Regions from separate parts of the Homo sapiens genome. Here region 1 is linked to region 2. The links are contacts of gene promoters, found by promoter capture Hi-C in blood cells and fetal thymus (Javierre and others, 2016). All regions are on one chromosome and are shown on one strand. The core of a region is centred on a gene start or on the middle of the fragment in contact, and the rest is flanking DNA. Distances in the headings are between cores, read along the strand shown. Region 1 holds the start of CCNI (cyclin I). Region 2 holds the start of NAAA (N-acylethanolamine acid amidase).

Region 1 (5,834 bases), core at 1-2,500, 1.1 Mb after region 2:
AAAACATAAACATTTTAGTTCAAACCCCTTCAGAGTCTGAATCCATCCTACCTCCCGAAACACCTTCCACTGTTTTGATACCCAATTGTCAACTTCTGCCAAAAGGATCTGTAACGGAGCCCCCTAGCTCCAGCGGAGGCTCCTCTGTCCTCCTTTCAAATTCCAGTTATTTAATCTAGCCTTTAGAGCACAACTCAAATCTCACCTCCCCCGGATTCCCCCCACCCACCCGCCCCAAGCCCTGGGTAACGTTGCCCTCCCCCGAATTTCACAGCACCGGAGGTTCACCCCATTCATTTGGCATTCAGTCTGCCGTGCAAAGTTAGTAATCCTCCTGGTGTCCCCGGAGAATCGTTCAACCTGAGGGTGGGGGTGTGTCCCCTTCTTTGTGTATTAACACGGGCTCGTAGAGCCTCCAACACGCACTATAGAGTAGCTAATTTGCCGCTGCCACAAAAAAAAGTTACTCGCTGACAGAAAAACTGGCCCGAAAAGGAACACAGTAGTGCCGTTTTCAAGTGGGCAGGTGACGGGTCTGTCTGGGCCGGAGAGGACGAAGAGGGCGGCCCCGAGGTTCCCCGGGCTGGGGGATGCGGGAGGGTGGGTCTCCGGCGAGCAGCGCGCGGCCAAGGGCGCTGCCACGGGGGCGGCGCGGGGGGAGCAGCGGGGCCCCAGCGCGTCGACGCCGGCCGCGGAGACGCGTCGAGCCCCCGCCCCCGCCCCCGCCCCTCACCTTCTCCTCCTCTTCCTCCTCCTCCTCCTCCCCGGCAGAGCTGTAGGCCTCACAGTGGTGACGCGGGGTCATCCGGGGGCCCGTTACCACCTCATTCTCATAGGCGCGCGGAGGCGGTGCGCGCGGGACGACTCGGCCAACTGAGGAGGGAGAAAGGGGAAGCGGATCGGGGGGCGCGGGCGCGGGCGCTGGCGCTCGAGCGGGACGCACGGCTGCGGCCGCTGGGTCGGTCAGCGAATTAGTTCCATGATGACCCCCGGCCTGAGGCCGCCGCCGCTCGAGCCCGGGTTGGGAGGGGGCTCCCTCTCGCCATAGGGCGGCGGGGGCCGGGGAGAGGCGGGGGGTGAGACCGGCTCTGCCCCTGCCCGGGGAAAGCGCCTCCGAGGGGAAATGGTGAAAGGGGGGGAGGGGAGAAAAGAAAAGAAAAAAAAAAAAAGAAAGGGGAAAGGGGGGAAAAATAAGAAAAAGCGAGACAGAGGCGCTGCCGCGTCCGCTCGCGGGGAAGGCTGGGGAGGGAGGGGAAGAGAGGGGAAGGGAGGAAGAAGTGCCGGCTTCCTCGGCTCCGCCCTCGCGGACCGATTCCTAGACTCGCCCACTCCTTGTAAACTACGCGGACTTGGTCTTTCACCCTTCCTGTTCCTCCCCGCCGCCTTCCCGGTCCAACGAAAGTACAGAGAAGTGCGGCCGAAAGGAGACGGGCTGGGGAAGTCGTTGGCACTAGGATGGAAGGAGGGAGGACGTTTTCTCGTGGCTAAGAAAAGCCGAAGGTCCGTGGACTCATTTTCCTTGAAGGAGCGGAAGGGTTGCTTGCAGACCGCACGGTGACGTCAGCGTCTCTGGGCCCCCACTGAGGGGGCGTGCGGTGGCCGGAGAGTGCGCTGCGCATGCGCCTGGGGAAGAAAGAAGCGGCCGAGCGCTGCGCTTGGGGGAGGGGATTTCACGATCCGCTCCTGTGGTCCAGCTTTACAGCAGCTTGGTTTTATCTAGCCCTACTCGTCCCCAGGCTCTTAGAAGGATTCACTGGGAAGGGGCTACTGATCTCTTGGGTGGAGATCTTGCAGATTTGTTGACCTAGCAAAGTATTACGTGTTCTTACCGTTGACATGTAAATAGAATTGCGGTTTTTCTCACTGCCACATTGTGTGGGTGGAGGGAGATTCTAAAGGGTTTTAGGAATCGGAAAATTAGGGAGAATCAAATCATGGGTGCTTAAGGCCTCAGTGAAACACTGTAAATTATACTGCTGACGGCGAGGAACCTGCTTGGCAATGTGGCAAGGGGATTTTATCCACTCAACCAACACGTCTGAGTATTTCCGAATAGGTTTTATTACCAGGTGCTTAAAGAATGTGTGGTGACATAAATGGGTTTTATTTGGGGTTCTGTTAGTACAAACGGTAACTTTTTGCTATTTTGATTGTTTTAATTATTTAAAAATATGTAGTATTACAGAGTTTTGAAAGAGGAAGAGCTAGATCTCAACCATTTATAGAAGTCTCGTTTGTTTTTTCCATTTGTTTTTTATATAGTTATTTTAACTGTCAGTGAAAAAATATGTGTTGAGTTTATTTAGTGGCCAGACTCAGCAAACTGGAAGTAGCCAAGACAGACATAGCTCCTGCCTTCATGGAGTTTACAGTCCAAACAGAGGATAACCATTGAGCTAATTATCACTATGTAAAATTACCAAGTACATTTACTTGTTTACTTGTGCATGTATCCCCTCCCTAGAATATAAGGTCGCAGGCGGCAGGGATCTTGCATGTTTCACCCTCTATCCCTGTGTATAAAAGGCTCTCAATATTTGACCAAGTAAACAATTCTGGTATTAAAACCGTTAAGATGGAAAATCGCCGGCTGCTGTGGAAACGCTTGCCTTTCCGCCTGGTTTGGGATATCAGAGAAGGTTTTTCTGAAGAAGTGACATTTAAGATGAGACTTGAAACCACTGGGCAAAGAATGATACAAGCAGAGGAAGTTATGTGAAAAGGCTCCGAAGCTGAGACGTTCTAAAAATCTCTGAAAGCTAGTGTGGCTGGCCCTCAGACAACTGAGGCAGGATGTGGAAGCAGAGGACAGATGCCATAGAACAGAAGAAGGAATGGGAAGCCCTAGGAGGATTTCAAGTGGGTTGTATCCTTTTTTTTTCTTTTTTTCACTTCATGTAGCCTATTATTATATGGTCTTCATTCAAAAAAGCCACCATTTTTCTGCATGTTACTCTTGAGACTGTAGCATTTCTGCATAATACTATTGAGAGTGTAACATAATTCCATTGTTAGACCATGAAATTGCTTCTGATTTTCACTCCAATAAGAATAATGCAAATTCCACTCCTAAATATATACCCAAGAGAAAGGAAAATATTTGTCCATGCAAAAACTTTTTTACAAACGTTAGCATTATTCATAATAGCCAAAGATGAAACAACCTAAATGTTCATCAGCTGGCGCCTGTATAAATCAAATGTGATACATCTATGTACAATCAAATTTTTATTTTTAAGAGATGGGGTCTGGCTCCGTGGCGCAGATGGGGGTGCCATGAGACTTCCTATGTTGTCCAGGCTGGTCTCAAACTCCTGGCCTCTAGCAATTCTCCCTCCTTAGCCTGAAAGTGATGGGATTACAGGCATGAGCCGTCACACCGACCTATACAATGGAATCTTATTGGGCCATAAAAAGAAAATACTAATACATGCTATAACATGCATAACCTTTGAAAGCAGTATGCTAAATGAAAGAAGCCAGTCACAAAAGACCACATATTATATGATTCCACTTACGTGAATGTCCAGAATAGGCAAATATATAGAGACAGAAAGTAAGGAAGTGGTTGCTTAGGGCTAGGGGCAGGCATGGGATTAGGGGATGATAGTTAAATGATATGGGGGTTTCTTTCTTTTTTTCTTTTCTTTTTTTCTTTTTTTTTTTTTTGGAAACAGGGCCTTGCTCTGTCCCCCAGGCTGCAGGCTGGAGTGCAATGGTGTGAACATGACTCACTGTAGCCTTGACCTCCAGGATCAAGCAATCCTCCTGCCTCAGCCTCCTGTGTAGCTGGAACCACAGGCGCATGCCTCCATGCCCAACTGATTTTTTGAAGGTTTCTTTTTGAGGTGAGAAAAATGTTCTGAGATTGATTGTGTTGATGGTTGCGCAACTGTGAATATTTAGGTTGAGTATTATCCAAAATATTTGAGACCAGAAGTATTTTGAATTTTAAACTTTTTTTTCAGTTTTGGAAATGTTTGCATTAAATTATATACTTACTGGTTGAGCAACCTAGTCTGAAAATCCAAAATGAGCATTTCCTCTGAGTGTCATGTTGGCACTCAAAAAGCTTTGGATTTTGGAGCATTTCAGATTTTTGTATCAGGGATATGCAACCTGTACTAAAAACCATTGAATTGTACACTTTAAATGTATTACTTCTATGGTGTTTGAATTATAATAAAGCTGCTACCCAAAAAATGAAAAACAAAAATAATTCAATTAACATCTTCATAACCTCTTTGGGGCTATTCCTAGGTCCAACAATATTATGTTTTTATGGCTTTTACTGAATACCAGTTGCCAGTTGCAAGGCAGAAGATTAAACCAATTAAAATGTTACCAGGAGTCTTTAAGAGCTCCCATTTAATTATATACTTATCCTTATTAAAACTATCTTACTGCCTATGAGATTGCCAGTGACAATTTAATCTACTATAAATATAATTACAAGTAATTAATAGGTGGGTAAGTAACTAGTTGCAGTTGTCTGAACAAAAAGTATGGATATTTTCTTTCTTTTTTTTTTTTCCTTTGAGACAAGGTCTCACCCTGTCACCCAGGTTGCAGTGGTGCGATCTCAGCTCACTGCAGCCTCAACTTCCTAGGCTCAAGCGATCCTTCCACCTCAGACTTCTAACTAGCTGGGAATACAGGTGTGCACCACCATGCCCAGCTAACTTTTGTATTTTTTGTACAGACGGGGTTTTGTCATGTTGCCCAGGCTGATCTCGAATGCCAGAGCTCAAGCAATCCAGCTACGTCAGCCTCCCAAAGTGCTGGGATGACATGCATGAGCCACTGTGCACAGCCAATATGGACATTCTTGTTCTTCAGTATCCATTTGTAAGACCATACTTTAATTCACTTTTTTTTTTTTTTGAAACAGAGTCTCTCTCTTGTCACCCAGGCTGGAGTGCAATGGTGCAATCTCAGTTCACTGCAACCTCCATATCCCGGGTTTAAGCAATTCTTCTGCCTCAGCCTCCCGAGTAGCTGAGATTACAGGTGTGCCACCGTGCCTGGGTAATTTTTGTATTTTTAGTAGAGACAGTTTCACCATGTTGGCTAGGCTGGTCTCGAACTCCTAACCTCAGGTAGTCCACCTGCCTCGGCCTTCCAAAGTGCTGGGATTACAGGCTTGAGCCACTGCGCCAGGCCATATTTTTTTTAATAACTAATAATTGTTTTTACAATTAATTGTAGTTGTAAAAAATCGAAAGTTTATGAAATTCCCTGAGAAAATAAATAAGATATATAAAGAGAACATATTATCCGCGTATTGGTAAATAACTTCTATTTAGTAATTCTAAATAGTAAAGTTAGACTACCATTCTACACGGCATTTCTAGGTGTGGTAGTTCATGCCTGTAATTGCTTTGGGAGGCCAAGCTGGGAGGATCATTAAGCCCAGGAGTTTGCACCAGCCTGGGCAACACAGAAAGACCCTGTATCTGAAAAAAAAAGGAGAGAGAGAATAATAATAACTAACACATGTTGATCACTCACTATGTAGCAAACATTATACTAAGCATTTTTATTGCATTCTTTTGTGTTTATCCCCACAGCACTCCTCTATAGTAGGTATTTTTGTTGTTCCTATTTTACAAAAGATAAAGAGGTAAAGTAAATCCCAATATTCATCACATAGCTTAGAGGGGCACAGCCAGGATTCAAACCCAGGTTGACTATCTCCAAAGCATGGTATGTTTTTAATCACTACTCTTTACTGCCTCTCCCTTAGAAGTTTCTGGCTTGCAGTAAATTTTAGGACAAAAATAGTCACCTTGTGGTGATTTTTGGCTTGTGTTTAATCTTAAATATTTTTAAAA
Region 2 (5,771 bases), core at 761-3,260:
ACCAGGCCCTGGTAATTTTTTTGTATTATTAGTAGAGACGGGGTTTCACCATGTTGGCCAGGCTGGTCTTGAACTCCTGACCTCAGGTGATTCACCCGCCTCGGCCTCCCAAAGTGCTGGGATTACAGGCGTGAGCCACCGCGCCCAGCCTGGATGCACATTTTATCATGCCCACTTCCCGGTCCAAACACTGGCTGGCCCTATTAGAGCAGTGTTCCCTGTCGCCCCAGCCCTGGTGGACACAGACACTTCAGCCACGACACACATGAAAGGATAAATGCAGGGCGACAAATAAGGGCAGAGATGAGCCACTGCCAGTATAGAGCTGGAAGGCCACTGAGTTAACTAAAGGGTCCAGATGAGAGGAGGCTTAGTTTCAAAAACTTCCTGGAAAAGTACGTTTTGAGCAGAATTTTTTTTTTTTTTTTTTTGAGACAGAGTCTCGCACTGTCGCCAGGGCTGGTGTGCAGTGGCGCGATCGCGGCTCGCTGCAACCTCCGCCTCCCGGGTTCAAGTGATTCTCCTGCCTCAACCTCCTAAGTAGCTGGGATTACAGGCGCCCACCACCACGCCTGGCTAATTTTTTGTGTTTTTCGTAGAGACGGGGTTTCACTATGTTGGCCAGGCTGATCTCGAACTCCTAACCTCGTGATCTGCCCACCTTGGCCTCCCAAAGTGCTGGGATTACAGGTGTGAGCCAACGCGCCCGGCCTTTGAGCAGAATTTTAAAAGTACGCTACCTGGATTGGGGAAGAGAAAACCCGGGGCTACACGTAGAGGGAAAGTTTAGTGTTGAATCGGAGAATCTGCTTTCCCTCTCGAAGCCTACGATGTGCAGCTCAGATTTACCCAGAGAGGCAAAGAGGAAGCGCTGGAGGTTTCTAGGCAAGCAGGCACCGCCCTGTTTTTATCACACGGAAAATATGTCTCCTCCCGCTAGTCTGTGTCGGGGGCCCCCGCAAGCCCCGCGTTACTCCGCGCGGGCTTGGGGCACTCACACGGAGGACTCGTAGGCCAGGTTGACCAGAAGGCAGTCCGCCAGGCTGAGGTTCATGAAGTCACACATGCCGCGGATCTCGCCGGTGAAGGGCTGGGGCAGGAAGCGCTCCAGCTCCAGGACCACTTTTCCGATTAACACGTGCACCCACTTGGGGACTCTGTCCCTAGAAACAAAAAGCACAAGGGCGTCTGACCCGCTCAGAGGTCGGCGGCGTGCGACTGCGTGTGCACTGCGAGCGGGGCTACATCCTTAGGGCGTGAGGTCTCAGGGCCACTGCTCCCCAGTCAGTGGACCGCCCAGGCGCGGCGTCACTCAATCTGCAGCCTCCCGGGAGTGGGGGGAAGGGGGCGGGGGGAAGGCGGCGGGTAAGAAAACTCCGAATGGGGAGGGCGAGTGAGGCTGGTCCCAAAGGGGCAAGCTTGGAAGGCCCGCGAGGCCCGCAAGGAAGGCGCGGGTTGCCCCTCCTTGGTAGCTATGCAGCCCGGGCGACAACTCGCGCGCCACGCTGACCCGGAATGGCTCAAGGACTGGCGTGCCACGGGTGACACCGAACTTGAAAGCCGAACCTGCCGCGCTGGATTCTCCCCAACCCGGACGCTGCTCAGGGCGGCAGCCAAAACCAGTTCTCCAAGGGTGGCGGGGAGTAAAGCGTCCCCGTTTAAAGCACTCTGAGCAGCGCGCGTTTGACTCCGACCCGCAGGGCCGGTGTCCCCGCAGACCCCGTCCAGGGCCCCAGCTCACCCGATGACTTGCGCCATCGCGGCGCGCACCAAGTCCAAGTCGTAGTGCCGCAGCACGGGCAGCCAGCGCAGCTCGGGGACCGAGTCCAGGCTCACGTTGAAGCGCGGCGCTGCTGGGGGCGAGGCGGCTGACAGCCCGGCCCCGGCCAGCAGCAGCAGCAGCAGGGACGGAAGCCCCGGGCGCGCCTCCCGGTCCGCGGTCCGCATGGCTCGGGCTCCAGCGGCCGCAACTTGGAGACCTGCAGCCGCTGTCGGAGCCCGGGTAAGCCGTGGAGGAGGAGGAGCTGGGGCTGGGCTGCGATCGCTGGAGGTGGGGCCCGCGCACGACCCGCCCGCCCCTGTCACCGGCAAGCCGGAGCGGCGACACCTCCCGTCCCCGCCGCGCATCCACTAGCCCGCCCCGACTCTCCATCGGGCCTGGAGGTCCCTGACCGCGGGGCCGCTAAGGGTTGGGGCTGCCGGCAGCCGGCTTCTCACCAACTGCCGGTTCCAGCGCACCTGCTTGGGCCGAAGGAGTGTAGGCTGCGGCCGGGAGGGGCTGTAAGATTTTCAGTAGCGAAAAGGTGTCAGGAAAGACTTTTCAGTTAAACTTTGTTTGCTTGTTTGTTTGTTTGTTTGAGATGTAGTCTCACTCTATTGCCCAGGCTGGAGTGCGGCGGCGAGATATCCGCTCACTGCCAACTCCGCCTCCTGGGTTCAAGCGATTCTCCTGCCTCAGCCTCTCAAGTAGCTGGGATTACAGGCGTCCACCACCATACCTGGCTAATTTTTGTATTTTTGGTAGGGACAGGGTTTCACCATGTTGGCCAGACTAGTCTCGAATTCCTGACCTAAGGTGATCCACCGGCCTCAGCCTCCCAAAGTGCTGGGATTACAGGCGTGAGCCACCGCGCCTGGCTGGTAAAACATTTTTTTAAAGCTCAAAATTTAGTGAACATTTATCTGCTAAATATTTTTCGCGGACATTATCTCATTTAATCATCAAAACAAGCCAACAGGTAGGTTCCACTAATCCTCGCTTTACTGATGAGGAGTGTGAGGCTTGGAGAGGTGAAGCCATGTACCCGAGGTTACTCTGCTGGTGTGTCTCTGCACTGGCCTCCAAGTAAGGAGGTCTGAATCCACAATCCACCTTCACACCTAAGTTTCTTCACCTTTGAGTTCCCAATGTCTGGGAGACAAACTTAGGAAAATCTTAGTAAGGCTGGGACATTCTTAACGGTTAGCACAGTTGTCTGTGGGTAAAACAGGGTACATGTGTACATGAATAGTAGAAACTAAATGAAAGGGCCGGGCATGGTGGCTTAGGCTTGTAATCCCAGCAGTTTGGGGGGCTGAGGCGGGTGGATCACCTGAGGTCAGAAGTTTGAGACCAGCCTGGCCAACATGGTGAAACCCTGTCTCTACTAAAAATACAAAAATTAGCCGGGCGTGGTGGTGTAATCCCAGCTACTTGGGAGGCTGAACAGGAGAACCTCTTGAACCTGGGAGGCAGAGGTTGCAGTGAGCCGAGATTGTGCCAATGCACTCTAGCCTGAGTGACAAGAGCAAAACTTTGTCTCAAAAAAAAAAAAAAAAAAAAAAAAAAAAAAAAAAAAAAAAAAAAAAACTAAATGCATAGTAGAAACTAAACACATTTTTTTTTTATTTTTTACCAATTTTAGGATGAAGAAATACAACTTTTATAATCAATCACTTGTTTTTAAGGATAACACTTAAAGGAATTACAAAATTTCTTGCCAGACATGGTGGTTCACGCCTGTCATCCCAGCACGTTGGCTGGCTGATCATCTGAGGTCACTTGGTTTAATGAATAGAATCAGAATTGCTGGTGGTTGACTTCCAAGACTAGGTCACAAAAGACACTGTGGGTTTCTCCTTGCTCTCTTGAATTGCTCACTATAGGAAGCCCATTGTCATGTCCTGAGGAAGCCCTATGAAAATGTCCCTTTGTGGCTGGACACAAATCTCAGCACTTGGAGAGTCAGGCAGGAGGACTGCTTGAGCCCAGGAATTGGAGACCAGCCTGGGCAACAGTGAGACCCCATCTCTACAAACAAATAAAAATAAATTAGCCGGGCATGGGGGCATGTATCTTTAGTCCCAGCTACTTGGTAGGCTGAGGTAGGAGGATTACTTGAGCCCAGGAATTTGAGGCTGCAGTGAACTATGATCACGCCACTGTACTCCAGCCTAAATGACAAAGTGAGACCCTGTCTCCAAAAAAGAAGTAAATAAAATTGAAAAAAAAGAAAAAAGAAAGTCCCTTTGTTGAGGAACTGAGCTTCTACCAAGAGCCAGAGAGGAACTGAGGCTTCTTGTCAAGTCATCTGAGTGAGCCATGGTGGAAGTGGACCTTCCTGCCTCAGCTAAGCCACCCCCAAATTCCTAACCCATAGAAACTGTGAAGCAGGCCGGGCATGGTGTCTCACATCTGTAATCCCAGCACTTTGGGAGGCCGAGGCGGGCAGATCACTGGAGGTCAGGAGTTTGAGACCAGCCTGACCAACATGGTGAAACTCCGTCTCTACTAAAAATATAAAAATTAGCTGGGCGTGGTGGCGGGTGCCTGTAATCCTAGCTACTCGGGAGGCTGAGGCAGGAGAATTGCTTGAACCCAGGAGATGGAGGTTGCAGTGAGCCCAGATCGCACCACTGTACTCCAGCCTGGGTGACAGTGAGACTGTCCCCCCCCGCAAAAAAAAGAAACTGTGAAATAATGTTTATCACTTTATGCCACTAAGTTTTGAGGTAATTTGGTATGTGACAAACAGATCATTAATATAGATTTGTTTGGGAACGTAACTGTAGTGCTACCATAACACATGCCTAAAAATGTATTGCTTTGGAACTGGTAGTAGGGAGAAATTGTAATAATTTTGAGCAGAATGTTAGTGAGAGCCTAAAGTTCCTAACAGACTGATGATTAGTAGAAGTCTGATGATTAGTAGAAATCCCTTGAGAAACAAACCATCCTAAGAAAGAAACAGTCTGATGGTCTTGAAGGAGACTGCCAGCACTAGCCACTTCAGAAGTGAGAATGTTATTGGAAACTGGAAGTAAGAGGTTCCTTTGTTATGTAGTGCCAGAATGTTTAACATGATCACCTAGAGGAATGCAGAACACAGAAAAATGTACCTAAGGAACTAGGTACTCTAGCTAGATCTCCAAGCAAAATGTTGAAGTTGCTACCTGGCTTCTTGCTGCTTATAGTCAAATATGAGAGGAAAGAGAGAAGCTAGAGCAAGGACTGTTAAAAAGGATCCAGAAATGGTTTTGAAAATCCTAGGCCCAAAGTATACATGAGAACTTAGTTTATCATAGATATCGCATTGTTTATCTGTGGAGATATCTGCAACATAGGTAATTGATAAAGAATTAGTATCTAGAATGCGTAAAGATCTCCTATGTTTTTATTACTAAAAAAAAAAAAGGAAAACAAAAGGCTATAAAAAGAGGAAAACCCAAATGAACATAAAAATGTGAAGTTATTTCAACCTCTCTAGTAATCAATGAAATGCAAATTAAACCATGATACCATTTCATAAACAAAGGGTTGTCTTAAGTTTCAAAGTCTAATAACATCTTGTTGACATGGATGTAGTAAGATACAAACTTACATGAGTTACTGACGAGAATATAGTGTTAATTCAGTATTGCCTAGTAAAGTTGAAGAATTGCAGACCCTACAAACCCAGTGATTTCATTTTCAGTTTTCTGGATTTCTTTTTTCTTTTTTTGAGACAAAATCTTGCTCTGTCGCCCAGGCTGGAGTGCCGTAGCGTGATCTCAGCTCACTCAACCTCTGCCTCCCAAGTTCAAGCAATTCTCCTGCCTCAGCCTCCTGAGTAGCTGGGATTACAGATGCGCACCACCACACCTGGCTAATTTTTTTGCATTTTTAGTAGAGACAGGGTTTCACCATGTTGGCCAGGCTGGTCTCAAACTCCTGATCTCAAGTGATCCGCCTGCCTTGGCCTCCCAAAGTGCTGGGATTACAGGCGTGAGCCACTGTGCCCAGCCCATTTTCA

Evidence for each region. The method cuts DNA at HindIII sites, captures the fragments that hold promoters and counts their contacts. A CHiCAGO score of 5 or more calls a contact.
Region 1: a contact is called between the fragment with the promoter of CCNI here and the fragment with the promoter of NAAA in region 2, in 1 of 17 cell types (fetal thymus). The highest score is 6.0, in fetal thymus.

The regions. Positions count from the first base shown.
Region 1 is chr4:77,074,739-77,080,572 of GRCh38, forward strand. CCNI (cyclin I) reads right to left here and starts at 1,251. Exons shown (of 7, transcript NM_006835.3): 1 at 734-1,251. RefSeq lists silencers at 579-728, 789-1,138 and enhancers at 1,319-1,548, 1,447-2,417. The HindIII fragment of the contact is 6,616 bases long and covers 1-4,070 here.
Region 2 is chr4:75,939,003-75,944,773 of GRCh38, forward strand. It overlaps NAAA (N-acylethanolamine acid amidase), which reads right to left and starts at 2,011. Exons shown (of 11, transcript NM_014435.4): 1 at 1,742-2,011; 2 at 999-1,163. The coding sequence starts at 1,947. RefSeq lists silencers at 1,294-1,363, 1,764-2,233. The HindIII fragment of the contact is 5,903 bases long and covers 1,417-5,771 here.